Linked DNA regions of Homo sapiens: regions 1 and 3 are each linked to region 2. Evidence: promoter capture Hi-C in human tissues and cell types (Jung and others, 2019). All regions are on one chromosome and are shown on one strand. Each heading gives the region's core, a stretch centred on a gene start or on the middle of the fragment in contact. The rest is flanking DNA. Distances are from core to core; before and after follow the strand shown. Region 1 has its middle 63 kb from the start of ST8SIA3. Region 2 holds the start of BOD1L2 (biorientation of chromosomes in cell division 1 like 2). Region 3 has its middle 28 kb from the start of ST8SIA3.

Region 1 (4,329 bases), core at 1,078-3,577, 140 kb after region 2:
GACTGTCTGTCACCATCACATTAACCAAAACTGTATTCTTTAAGGTTAAATCTCAAGTGCTTTGTCTAACCACCCTGCTCTCATTTCTGAATAGCATTTGACACAATTGACAACTCCCCCACCAACCCTTGCCCTCCCATGCATTCACACAGGTGCACACACAGGCACACAGACTTCCTTAAAATTATCTCCCTGGCTTTTGCAGCTTTCTCTGCAACCTTTCTGCCACCTCTCTCTCTCCAGTCTGATGATTTTCAAACCTTTCCCCTCAGAGGTTCTCCATCTCGACATATCTAAAACCAAACTCATGGTCTTTCTTTAAGACCTACTATCCTGGGTCTTGAGTGTCATTACCATCTTCCAGCCCACCAGACTGGATACCAAGGAGTCATCTTTTTCTCCTTCCTATTCTCAACCCTCACATTTAATTAGTCCCCAAGTCCTGCCAATTCTTCCTTCTTAACATCCCCTATACTTATACCATCATCTTCATTATCACTCTATTCTCTCCTTTCTAATTCATGTGGCCCATCTCTGCTAGATTAACCCCCTTAACACATCTGTCGAGCCTCATCAATGGTGACTCCTGTTTCCCATATGAAACTAAAGTTCTTGCTCTAAACTTAAAATGCCTGAATATGCTGGTCCTATCCTGCTCAGTCACCCTGATTTCCCATTACTCTAAAGCATGAATTCTTTGCTGCAGTCAAACTCTACTTGTTACATTTCTCCCTTCATGCTGATGAACATGATTTGCACTGACACCACCACCAGGTTGCTGATCCTTCTCTCTGCATGGAAAGCACCCTGCTCCACTCCACTTTGCCTCATCTTATTCCTGCAGGGCCCTGTTCAACGATCACTTCCTCCCTCAGGGCAGTTGGTGACTCCTGGACACCCCAATCTTGTCTCTAATTCTTTTTGCTCTCTCTGCTGATGCATCTTATATTAGTACATAGTGCTAATTATTTTATGATGGGTGTAACTGTTCAATTCAACATATGTTAAAGATTTATTTTGACCAAGTCACCAAGCTAGGAAATACAAAGGTGGGGAGGGAATATAAAAATATTATTATTATTATTATTATTATTGAAATGGAGTCTCGCTCTGTCACCAGGCTGGAGTGCAGTGGTGCACTCTCAGCTCACTGCAACCTCCGCCTCCCAGGTTCAAGTAATTCTCCTGCCTCAGCCTCCCAAGTAGCTGGGACTACAGGCATGGGCCACCACATCCAGCTAATTTTTGTATTTTTAGTAGAGATGGGGTTTCACCATGTTGGCCAGGATGGTTTTGATCTCTTGACCTCGTGATCCACCAGCCTTGGCCTCCCAAAGTGTTGGGATTACAGGCGTGAGCCACCGTGCCTGGCCAAAAATTATTTTTAATGGTCTGTACCAGTGACAGGCTTGAGGGTAGGAAGAAGGATTCTGGTTTTCTCATAATCCCCCTCAGCCATCCCTCCCATTCTTTAACATGAACAAATGATATTTCTTCAATTTTAGGTAAAAGCTATGGAGCCAATACAGGTGCAGCATTCCCTTCTACCCATTGGCAATTCTGGAACTTCCCTTGCTCTGTTAATAGACCAAAAAGAAAAAGTTGTTATTATGTTGAGTATTTACTGACTACAATGTAATCCAGTTAGAAATCCACAACAAATAGATAACCACAAAAAACATCTGAAAACAGATTTTCAAATAACTCCCAAGCTTGATAAGAAATACAAGAAAATTACAAACTGTTTACAACTCAAGAACACTACATGACAAAACTTATGGGATGCAGCCAAAGTGGTACTTAGAAGCCAATGAATAGCAGTAAACAAGTTTATTAGCACAAAAGATTGAAGTTAAATGAACTTAACTTTCAAATCAGGAAGTGCAAAAACAACAACAACAAAATTATCCAAGGAAAGTAGACGAAAGGAAGTAAAAATAATTTTAAAAGAAATTATAAATTAATCAACAAAAACAATGCTTGTCCTTTGACGAGACGAATCTTTGGTAAATTTCACTAAGAAAGAGAGAAAGTATACAAACACGTTGAGCCTGAGAAAAGCAGGAAGCTAAATTTCAGCCTGAATTTCAGTTACAAAGCAGGAAACTGTGCAGTCTCAGGCAAGTTTCTTAACTACTCAACACAGACCCACCATCTGCAAAATACAGGTAACAAAAAAAGCAATTCCTACCTCAAAAGTTGCTGTCACAATTAGATGAGATAGCATATGCAAAGGACGTAGCACAATGTCTGGCTCACAGAAACAGAAAATAAATAGTGCTATCATAATGGCATTTTAATGTCATAAACCTAAATGAATAGAGTAGTAGGTCTTAGTCCTGGGTTTGCATCAGGATTAACTGTGATGATTTTTAAAATTCATGTTGAATGATTATTTTTATTATTGGGAAAGTCTAATTTTCTCATCACAGGAATCATTTTTTAATTCACCAAACTCTATTGTCAACACAACTGTGTTCCATAGATACACCCAAACTTGGAGATTTCTGATTCTGTCAAATTTTTCCCCAGGCATTTCTTTTCTGATTTCTTCCCATGCAAGCTTCAAGGATGGGAAAGTCTGACACTGGAAAATTTTCCAACTTTTTCTTTTTCATTTCTTATTCCTTATGAACACGACTCCATATTCAATGGTTAGATTGGGCACCAAAATATATCACTCAAAAAAAAAAGGTGTTTTAGTTTGGGTTTCCTTAGAAGCAATCCCTCAGACAAGAGTCTTGGAACATGCAGTTTATTTGGGAAGTGTTCTCAGGAAGCATAGTATACTGGCTAGTGGGAAATTGAGCAAAGTAAGCAAAGGAAGCCAATAAAGTTATGAATGCCCAGGTTGCCACTGTGGGAAATTGAGGCCCAATGCCTTTGAGGGCCTCTGGGACAGCGAGTAGGACACACCTCAGATTTATCCTACTCAGGGAATGAGGAAGCTTAACCACCAACTTTCATTTGGCTTGGGTTGAGGGGGGCTCTTGAGCAATTCACTCCAGTGGCAGGGAAAGCCCTCAAGCAGAATCATGTTTCCTTGCAGGAGGAAGCCATTGGCCTTTTGGAGACTCAAGGGGCTATGGGCATCTGCTACAGAAGCCAACCAATGTCAACCCAATGCTCATGCCTAGGGTAGTTTGTGTCCACATTGAGGGGTGAGCAACATACTTTGGAAATTCTTTCATGCTTCCCTTCTACGCCAGATTACCTTTTATTTAACCATCCTAGTCTTTAGGAAGCTCTTCACAAAAATGAAAAGATTTGTGCTTTTTAATAAAAGGACTTGGAATTTAATATAAGTGATCTACAGGGTGCTTCATGACATACATGCTACTAATTGCTCCCTTACCTTTTGTGTTACCCTGTTTCAAAATTATTGTTTCTTAAAAAAAAAAAAAAAAAAAACAACAACAACAACAATAATCACAGAGTTATCTATGTGATTGGATGGTGCATGTGATCAGGGTACCATAGAAGGGCATGATATGGGGAGGTTCCAGCACATTCAGCAATTCATACGCCATGCTCAGAGATCTTCAAGAGTATTTGCAACCTTTTTAAAATTAATCTTCACAGAACTTCTAATAGTAAAAATAGCACTCACATATTTTTTGCTTTTAGGATTCTCTCAGAAGTCTCTCATCACTCTAATTCATTTTTTCATAGCTTCTGCTATAATTTATTTTATTTTATTTTACTTCATTTCAGTTTTGAGAGGTTAATCTCACTCTCTCACCTAGGCTGGAGTACAGTGCTGCAACCTCAGCTCACCACAACCTCTGCCTCAGGTTCAAGCGACTCTCCCACCTCAGCCTCCTGAGTAGCTGAGATTACAGGCATGCACCACCACACCCAGCTAATTTTTGTATTTTTAGTAGAGCCAGGATTTCCCAATATTGGCCAGGCTGGTCTCGAACTCCTGACCTCAGGTGATCCACCTGCCTTGGCCTCCCAAACTATTAGGATTGCAGGTGTGAGCCACTGTGCTCGGCCTTCTGCCATAATTTAAATGTGTGCCCTCCAAAATTCAGGAGTTGCCAATGTGATAGTATTAAGAGGTAGGGCCTATAAACGATGATTAGGTCATGAGAACTCCCTGGTAAATAACCTTAAGGCCTTTATAAAAGAGGCTTCAGTCAGCCTTCAGTTTCTCTTGCCTTCCTGTCATGTGAGGATACAGGAAGAAGGTCCTCACCAGATGCTGGTGCCTTGATCTTGGGCTTCCCAGCCTCAAGAACTGTGAGAAATGAGCTTCTGTTTTTTATAAACTAGCCAGCCTTGGGGATTCTGTTAGAGCAGCACAAGCAGACTAAGATAGCTTCC
Region 2 (4,915 bases), core at 441-2,940:
TTGCATTCTAAGAGAACTCCTGTGCAATCTGAAGGGCTCATGCACAGTGAGGGGATAAATGAAGACTCAGTTCAGGCTCCAGCACTTCTGCAAAGTCTTCTTCCATCTGCCACGTTCTCCCAGGCTTCAGTGTTCTCCAACACATGACAGGGACACCCTCCTTTCATCTATGCAATCTTTATTCTGCAAATATTAATGGTGCCTCTCTTTTGTTCCAGGCACCATGCTAGGTGTGCATGTTGCATCTAAGTTCCCATGGAGCTTGTGTATGTCCTCAATGGTTTTCTCTGTCAACATCTCCCCTCTCCAACTAGATTGTAAGCTTTTCAAAGGCTGGCCATGTTGCCTGTCTTAAACAACAGCCACAGCAAACATTTATTGAGTGTTAGACTGGGCCAGGCACGTGGAGAGCTCCATAAAGCTTAGCACAGGGCCACATCGACTAGTCCCTCAATAAATATTGATTAATTTAAAAAAATACAGAACTGAATTGTCGAGCTGATCATGGGGATGGTGAGGAGCATAGGTAGGGGGTTGCTGTGGTGAAGTCTTGGTAGGTTCACTGTCTCCTGTGGGATGAGATTCAGAATACGTCCATCTGAGGCATCTGTACTTGTATGTCAGAAGCTATGGGGTGAGGTTATTGACAGAGTCTGTTGTGTAAACTTTCTTTGTGAAATATACTACCTTTAAGCTATGTTACGGCTTATAGAACAATGTGGTGTCTACATCTCAGGGGCATTTTAATTCAGGGAAGTGAGTGTTGGGGTGAAATCAGGGATCTGCTTTTCTTTTGAAATATTGATAGAAGGTTCTTTCTGTGCACCTGCACTTCTCTATTGGATGGCGCTGGATGTGGTTGCCTTTTGTGGCTCTTGGTTGCAATACAGTTCTCTTGTTGAAATGACCTCCTTCTGACTGACACATCTGCCCTAGGCTCATCAATGGCTACCAAAGCCAATGGACACCTTGTGGAACATAGTGTGGCATTTCACCCATGGCCTTCATGAAATGTACCTTTTGCGGTCTATGATCCAAGGCTTTTGTAGTTTTCCCTCCATCTTTTTAGTGTTGTTCTCAGTCCCCCTCATGGGCTCTCCAGGTGTTCCTCTATCTCTTCTAAGTTCTCCATTGTAATTGCCACCTATAGTCTCTACCTTCAGTGAGTTAGATGTCTCTCCCCAGCCCCTAGTCCTTGTATCTTTGGACTTCATAGGCAGATGTCTGCATCTGAATAACCCATACCCATCTTAAACTAGTAAATAAAAATGGAATGCACGATCATGTCTCTGTCTCCCATCCTCACCTCTATACCTGTTCTCCATTTAGTAAATGGCACCTCCATGCACCTGCCCAAGTGAGAAGCCTGGGGGTCATCCTTGACCCTCTCCTTTCCCTCGTCCCTCACCCCGTTGTTCTCCAATCCCTGGGATGAGTCTATCTCCTAAATATCTCTTGTATCCCTGTTACCTTCTTCACCTGCCAGGCCACGAAGATCATTCACTCCTCGCCATCTCCTTCTTAGGGCACTGAAATGGTTGCTGAAATTGTCTCCCTGTTTCGCCCTTGCCCACTGGCATTTGTTTCCCACCTCCCTCTTAGAGATCTTTTAAGAAATGCAGATTACGGTTCCCGCCTCACAATGCAAAGGTCAACGGTGACGCCATCTGGAGCGCGCTTGGAATCCAGCAGGCGGTTGCTGCCGCGTCTTCCACAACCTCCGCGGTCTGGAGCTGGCCTCCCCCACCGCCGCCCCAACCACCGGCCCCGCCGCCATCACCACCACCGTCACCTCCGCCGCTGCCTCCTTGGGGCCCTCCTCCTTCACCGCCCCCTTAGCCACCTCTACACATTCTAGGCTTTCTGTCCTGGAGAAGAAGCTATAATCGGTTTCCTTGTGGGCCCGGTGCGCAGCCATGGCGGACGGTGGCGGCGGCGGCAGCGGCGGTGCGGGCCCGGCCTCGACCCGGGCCAGCGGGGGCGGCGGCCCCATCAACCCGGCCTCGTTGCCCCCTGGCGACCCTCAGCTCATCGCTATCATCGTGGGGCAGCTCAAGAGCAGGGGCCTTTTTGACAGCTTCCGCCGGGACTGCAAGGCTGACGTGGACACCAAGCCAGCTTACCAAAACCTGAGCCAGAAAGCGGATAATTTTGTGTCGACACATCTGGACAAGCAGGAATGGAATCCTCCAGCAAACGACAACCAACTGCACGATGGTCTGAGGCAGAGTGTGGTTCAGTCAGGGAGGTCAGAAGCTGGAGTGGACAGGATTAGTTCTCAGGTGGTGGATCCAAAACTAAACCACATCTTCAGGCCACAAATAGAACAAATAATTCATGAATTCCTGGTGGCCCAGAAAGAAGCAGCTGTGCCAGCACTCCCTCCAGAGCCAGAAGGCCAGGACCCTCCAGCTCCGTCTCAGGACACTTCCTAAGAATATGCCTGACAGCTTTTGAAAGCGCTATTTAATTTTTGGTGAAGAAATGGATTCGGTTACATAAGAGTGCAGTTTCAGATTGAAGATAAGCCAAGTTCATCACTGAGCTCAAGATTTCCACCTCGACCATGAGCAGTGACCAGATTGAAAGGGAAGCAAGTTCGCCAGAGAGAAAGTTGACCGTGGCACCCTCCTGCATTGCGCTGCCATTTGGCCAGCCTTTCCAAGGGCATGACACCAAACACACACTACAGAGAGGGAAACACTACCGCGACCCAGGATTGTCCTGAAACAGACATCTATACTTGAACATGGAGACTGCACATGGATTTTAGGGTTTGTGCTCTGAGATAAACGAAAGCTACAGCGAGAGAACATAACCAATCCCAAAGACAATTTCAAAGAACAATGACAGTAAAGGTTAACTGGGAGGAATATTTGACAGTACTTATTTGATATTGTCTCTCAGAGTTGCAAACTAGATTGTACACAACATTAGTGTCAGATAGCTTTGAAGTTGTGACCTTCTTGTACATGAATCTTCTAGCCAGTTTCCTTTCCTTTGTAAGAGATAACAAAGCATGAAACCCTAGAATGAGTGAGAAGTTCAGACATTAGGTATAAGGAAACTCATTTGCAGACTCTCTGTCCAAGAATGCTTCCTGTCTTGCAGGGGCTAGTGAGTCTTGGGTGTGTTTATGTTATGCTCACATTTGTGTTTTATTTGAAAAGTGGATGGTCAATAAATGGCTTATCTTTCAACTGCAACAACAAAAAAGAAATGCAGATTTACATCCTTTTCCTCTTTAAGCTCCGTCAGTTTTCTGATATTTCTAGAAGGTCAGACACCTGGCATGGTTTATGAGGCCCGTGATAATGGGGCCCCTGGTCACCTCTGCTGCCCCGTACACTGTCATTTCTCATATGACAACCATGCCCATGACTATCCTGGACACCCTGTGTTCCCTCTGCTCACTGTGAAGGGAATGCCCTCAACCACTCCTACCCTCCTTTAAGACTCAGCTCCTGAGGAGCCACACATCGTCTAAGCAGGAGTGACAGACTCCTTCCTCTGTGCTCCCATAGATCTCATAAGGGATGACCACACTTACTATAGTAGCTAGGTCTGACGAAGCACTTGCTCTATTGCTCTACAGCTGGCAGTGTACTAAACGCTTAACTTCGCTTACCGTAGTAAGTCCTCATGATCTAATTGAAGAAATCGTATCTTTATTCCCATTTTTATTCCCATTTATAAATGTAGAAACCAAAGCTCAGACACTGCCTAAGTGGTGGGGCTGGGGCTGAGCCTGTATTGAGCACAGAGCCCTCACTTTTAACCCTTTTAACCATGCTTTTAGCCACACCACCTCACCACAGTGAACTGTCTTTGCTTACAGATCTGTCATCCCCACTTAAATGTGAGCTTCCTCCAGGGCAGGGATTTGCTTTGTTCATTTCTTTTCCTTAACCCCAGGACCTAGCACATCACAGGAGCTCAGCAATTTGTAGAAAGAAACCAGTTCTGGATTTGTCTTTTCCAACATTTAATTTCTCAGATGGCAGTATTTATCATCTAAAAAGTGAACAAAAATTAATTTTGCATCTAGTGTCTACATGTCTAAGCAAGAAAGAGCTTTCTTATCCCTGGAGGTATTTTATCTGTAATGTTTACCTATGAGCTATTTTAAATGATTCTTCAAAATTTAGAGTCCAGAAGGTAGAAGACCATGTCCTTTCTGAAAATGTCCCTTCCTTTCCCAGGTACCAGGCTCTTTTTAAAATTAGCTTCTGAATATGAACAACCCAGCTCTTTAAAGTTTAATGTCCCAGCCATTTTAATTGTTTCTTTCGAAGTACAAAAGAGCAGCTGGGCCACATCGGCACTAATCACTTGCCAACTTTCCTTTTTACAAAAACAGCTAAGCTCTTTCTGAGATTTAAAATCACTCCATCTGAGACCCCAGCTTGGCACCTATCTTTGCACTAACATAAAAGGAACCTAATTTCTGCTTTTAAGAAATGTGTTGCGGAAGTGATTTTTGGTTTGGGGTTTGTTCTCCTTCTTCTTTTTAAAAATAACGTAATAAAGTGTAATACAACTTTTAAAGTTTTTTTTTTCCTTTACCAGTTCTCTATTCTCCTTTTCTACTTGAATTGTCCTGAGACAGGTTGCCAGATAAAATACAGGTTGCTCAGCAAATGTGAATTTCAGAGAAACAACAGATACTCTCCTAGGGCATGGACCGTGCAATATTTGAAACATACTTGTATTAAAAAGTTATTTGTTGTTTATTTGAAATTCAAATTTACTGGGGCCCCATGCTTTAGTTTGCCAAATCTGCCAACCATAGCCTGAATGCTTCCCGTTCCCACCATGAGTTTGGCAAATGGAAAATGCTAACCTATGCGATGGACACTGCTGTATTCTGAAAATGAATATGTAAATAAATCAAACTACCGTGACTTGAGAGAGC
Region 3 (4,275 bases), core at 561-3,060, 180 kb after region 2:
GCCATGGCTCTTGCTCAGGAGTGCGATGGAAGAAGTGGCTAATAGCAGCAATTTGGGGAGCCCATTATGTGAGCATCAGACCTTCCCCAGATACCCCCACCTCACTGGTGGTGAGGAGTTCCCCATATGTTGCCAGAGGAGTCTGGCGGGGACTCTAACAGTGATGGTCCTTTATTACCTGCAGTTTGGCAGGGAAGGAACAGGCAGGAATAGACCAAGGTTCCTATAAAGATACAAATACATCACCTCAAAGACTGACCCATTAAACGATTGTAACTTCTAACATCTTAGTCTAATCCAGCTTCTCACATTAACAGCTTACTCTCATCAAGTCCCCAAAAAGAATGGAAGCCAGGACAGATGAGCTTGATAAAGATGGCAATGGTTCTCAGCCCTGGTGAGACATTAGAATCATGCGCCCCAGTCCCAAAGTTCTGAATTAATTGATCTTGTGGGGGACCCGGTATATATTTTTAAAGTCTCCTGGGCAGTTCTAATGTGTAGTTGGAGTAGCAATCCTCTGATTTAGGACACTGTGCACTTCCAGGGGGAGGGAGGGAGTATGGAACAAAGGAGCCCAGAGTAAAAGGAGGTCATGGGAGGCTAGGAAAGCCTCCTCCCACCCAAAGAGTTTGCCCAGTGTCTGTCCTGCTTTTGGGTCTTTAGGCCACTTCTAAATCTTTTCACTTCTAATTATTCCCCAGCAAATCCCACCTCCTTCCCCAGGTCAAAGCAGACTGCTATAAAGGAAAAAGGAGTGGAGTGGACCAATGTCTCTTTGTTAAGAAAGTTCCACAAGCTTTGTTTTACTGCTTTATTTGGAGTCTGATTTTTTAATAAGACGGGGCAAAAATGGGCATTAGTATTTGTATTAGTCCATTTTTATGCTGCTGATAAAGACATACTCAAGATGGAGCAATTTACAAAAGAAAGAGGTTTAATGGACTCACAGTTCCACATGGATGGGGAGGCCTGCCAATCATTGTGGAAGGTGAAAGGCACATCTCACATGGCAGCAGACAAGAGAAGAGAACTTGTGCAGGGAAATTCCCCTTTATAAAACCATCAGATCTTGTGAGACTTAGTCACTATCATGAGCATAGCATGGAAAAGACTCACCCCCGTTATTCAATTTCCCTCCCACAACACATGAGAATCATGGGAGCTACAATTCAAGATAAGATTTGGGTGGGGACACAGCCAACCCATATCAGTATTCCACACATCCACAGAGGTACCCCTGGTATTCAAGGAAAAACAGCACAAAGAAACAGACCACTCACATTAGGATTATATTGGGTGCTTTTTTTCACCCCTAACAGTGTTTTTGTAATTGAAATCATTAAATGGGAGCATTAAAAGGGCCCTTCAAGGCCATCTGGTTCAGCCCATGCACCCCATGAGGAATCAGCAGGGCTGCATTCAGGAGCATTCAGGAATTTACCTTTACCCCAACCTGAGTTTCAATCCCAGCTTGGCTACTTGCTAGCTGAGCCACCTTGGGCATGTAACTTATGTTAAGTTTCCTCAGTTTACTTGTCCATAAAATGGGACTCATGATACCTACCTCCACAATACCACAGAGTGGTTGTGAAGAAAAAATGAGTCAATGACAAATATTAATCCACTTCCCTTATTAGAATTTTGAATACTGAATGTGATATTTGATCCTCCCACCATCACCACACACAACAGCATTTTAGCACCATCAATTTCTGTCATTAGCATTTGGGATGTTCTGTGGTGTCAACCTCATTTGATGAAGTTGACTAATGGGCTACCTAGGTAGAAGCAGAAAATATCTTCTCCTAGCAGTTTGCCACAGTGACAGGAAATTCATCATCATTGCTATGCCTTAACTAGAAAGCAGTACTGTTTAAAAAAAAACATGGAAGGGGGCCCACACTCGGAGTCAAAAGAATTAGGCTCTGATCCCAGTTCCACAAATGTGTAGCTGTGTGATCTTGGGCAAACAACTTAAACTTTCTGAGCCTCGGTTTTCTCATATGACAAAACTTGCTCTGCCCACCTAGATATGATAAGGGCCAAATGAAATTGTATATGGCAGCAGTTCCCAATCAGTAGCAATTCTGCCTCCACCCGACCCGAGGTACATTTGACAATATCTGGAGACACTTTTGATTGTCACAACTAGTGAGTAGAAGGAAGGGAAGCTGCTAAACAAACATCCTACGTTGCAGATGACAGCCTCCCACAAAGAGTTATCCTGTCCAAAATGTCAATAGTCCTGTGGTTGAGAAAGGGCTTTGTAACTTTGAGAGGCTCAGGTGTCATTCTTAAACAACAAGTACCTATGAGGAGGTTCACAGTGGCTTTCAGAGTCATTGCCACCTTCGTTCAGCTAATTTCTCAGACCCCTTTCCAACAGGACACAGAACTATGCGGAGGGCACACCCCTCTAAGAAGCCTTGCTCAGGGCAAAAGTGCAGGGCTTAGCAGGCTGGCCCCTGTGGAGGGCAGGTCTCCCGCCAGCCAGGGACACTTAGAAGAACAACCCAAAACAACAAGGGTTGTGAGCATGGGGAGGTTTAACCCAGCATCTTCATGTAGGTTTTTCAAAGATGCCTCAAACCCAACATGACTCATATCAAATTCATGTTCATCCCACATTCACTCCTTCTCCATGGTTCTCTGCATCAGCAAATACTACCACCCTTCATCCATGAGTTTGCTCAGGCCAGAAATCCAAATATCTATGGATTCCATCCACTTCTCTATATCACCTATTCTCTCTTTCTCTCTCTCTCTCTGTGTGTGTCACACACACACACACACAAACACACACACGCTGCTTAAAAGCCATTCAAAAGCTTTTCCGATAAAGACCAAAATTTTTAACACAGCCTGGCCTCTGGCCTGACTCTCCAACTTCATTTATTACCATTCTCCTCACCCCTGATGCTAGCCAATCAGTTGTGGCTTATTTTAGCTCTTTGAAACCACCATGCCACAGGGCCTTTGCACATTCTTACCTTATTCTTAGACACTCTCCCATTTTCTTGCCCTAATTAACTCCTATGCTTCCTGCAGATTTCAGCTTCCAGCTTCAGCTTCCAGTCATTACATTTTCAGGGAACTGTTTTCTGACCTCCTTGACAAGCCAGTTCCCTCTGTTATCCCTCTTGTGACCACCACCTCTCCTCCATAACCCCTACCCTGCTGGTAGTTTACATTTGTAAAAGTCTTGGATCAAAGTGTATCTCCCTCACTAAAGAAAACATTCCACCAGATTTGCTAACTATCATATTCACCACATAGCACACAGTGCCTTCCACATAGCAAGAAATGTATAAATATTTGTTGAATATGTGAATATGGATACCAAAGGCAAATTTGAGGCCAACTATAAAACAAACAAACAAAAGGCAGAAAAAACACTCTTAGGTTCATTTTAATTTTTGAACCCCTTTTGTGCCAAGACTAGCTTTTGGCCTAATGGAATATTTTTATGCTAAAATGTCTGAAATGCTGTCTGATGCCTCTGAGCACACTTAGGCAAACATTTCTGGTACAAAGAGAGATTATCAGGCAATCTGCCTTCCCTAGCACCAAATACTGTTTTCCTTGGGCACGTCCCAGCAGCTGCTGATAAATCTGCAGACAGTCCTTCTCAATGATCTTTGTCTCCCAGCTTTATCAAGGCAGCTTCTAGGAACAATGCTCCTACTCAGCTATCAGGCTGGTCCTACATAGGGGTCCATTTTGGAGACTCTCCTTAAAGTTATCTGACTGCACTGCGCTTTCCTCATCTGTGAAATCCATAACTAGCAACAAGGCAGGAACCAGGCTCTGCCCACCAAGGCCCATGGGGGTGGCTCTGCAGGTGAGGGGATGATTCTTCCATCTCCTGTGTGGTGGAGCCCCCAAAGGGAGCCCAGGCCTTCTCTCTGCGTTCTACTCCAAAGGGCAGTTCTCAGATATAGCAACTGTGAGTGATATATTTTTATTTTCCCGGAAAAATACTGAGCTTCTGTTCAAATGAGATTTAAGCCAACATGAAAGATGGAATGTGCTATTTTTTTTCTTTCCTAAGGTCCTCGATGTCACATCCAGCAAAAGCAGGTTGCCCATATTGTGGTAATTATTGTCTAAGCTCTTATTTTGAACAAAAGGAAATTGTGTGTGTGTGTGTGTGTGTGTGTGTGTGTGTGTGTGTGTGTGACAGAGAGAGAGAGAGAGAGAGAGAGAAAGAGAGCAAGAGAGAGAGAGAGAGATTGACCTGGGGAAGGAGAGGCAAGGAGGGAGAAAGAAAGG

The links. The method cuts DNA at HindIII sites, captures the fragments that hold promoters and counts their contacts. A contact is called where the count stands out against the background at its distance.
Region 1: a fragment that was not itself captured here is called in contact with the fragment with the promoter of BOD1L2 in region 2 in 6 of the 25 tissues and cell types used here (H1 embryonic stem cells, adrenal gland, heart left ventricle and 3 more).
Region 3: a fragment that was not itself captured here is called in contact with the fragment with the promoter of BOD1L2 in region 2 in 2 of the 25 tissues and cell types used here (H1 embryonic stem cells and mesendoderm cells).

The regions. Positions count from the first base shown.
Region 1 is chr18:57,287,839-57,292,167 of GRCh38, forward strand. No RefSeq gene overlaps it. Among named protein-coding and RNA genes, the nearest start is that of ST8SIA3, 63 kb to the right of the region's middle. The HindIII fragment of the contact is 3,065 bases long and covers 796-3,860 here.
Region 2 is chr18:57,145,397-57,150,311 of GRCh38, forward strand. BOD1L2 (biorientation of chromosomes in cell division 1 like 2) reads left to right here and starts at 1,691. Exons shown (of 1, transcript NM_001257964.2): 1 at 1,691-4,915. The coding sequence starts at 1,917. The coding sequence ends at 2,435. RefSeq lists an enhancer at 1,860-2,455. The HindIII fragment of the contact is 20,182 bases long and covers 123-4,915 here.
Region 3 is chr18:57,322,409-57,326,683 of GRCh38, forward strand. No RefSeq gene overlaps it. Among named protein-coding and RNA genes, the nearest start is that of ST8SIA3, 28 kb to the right of the region's middle. The HindIII fragment of the contact is 5,987 bases long and covers 1-4,275 here.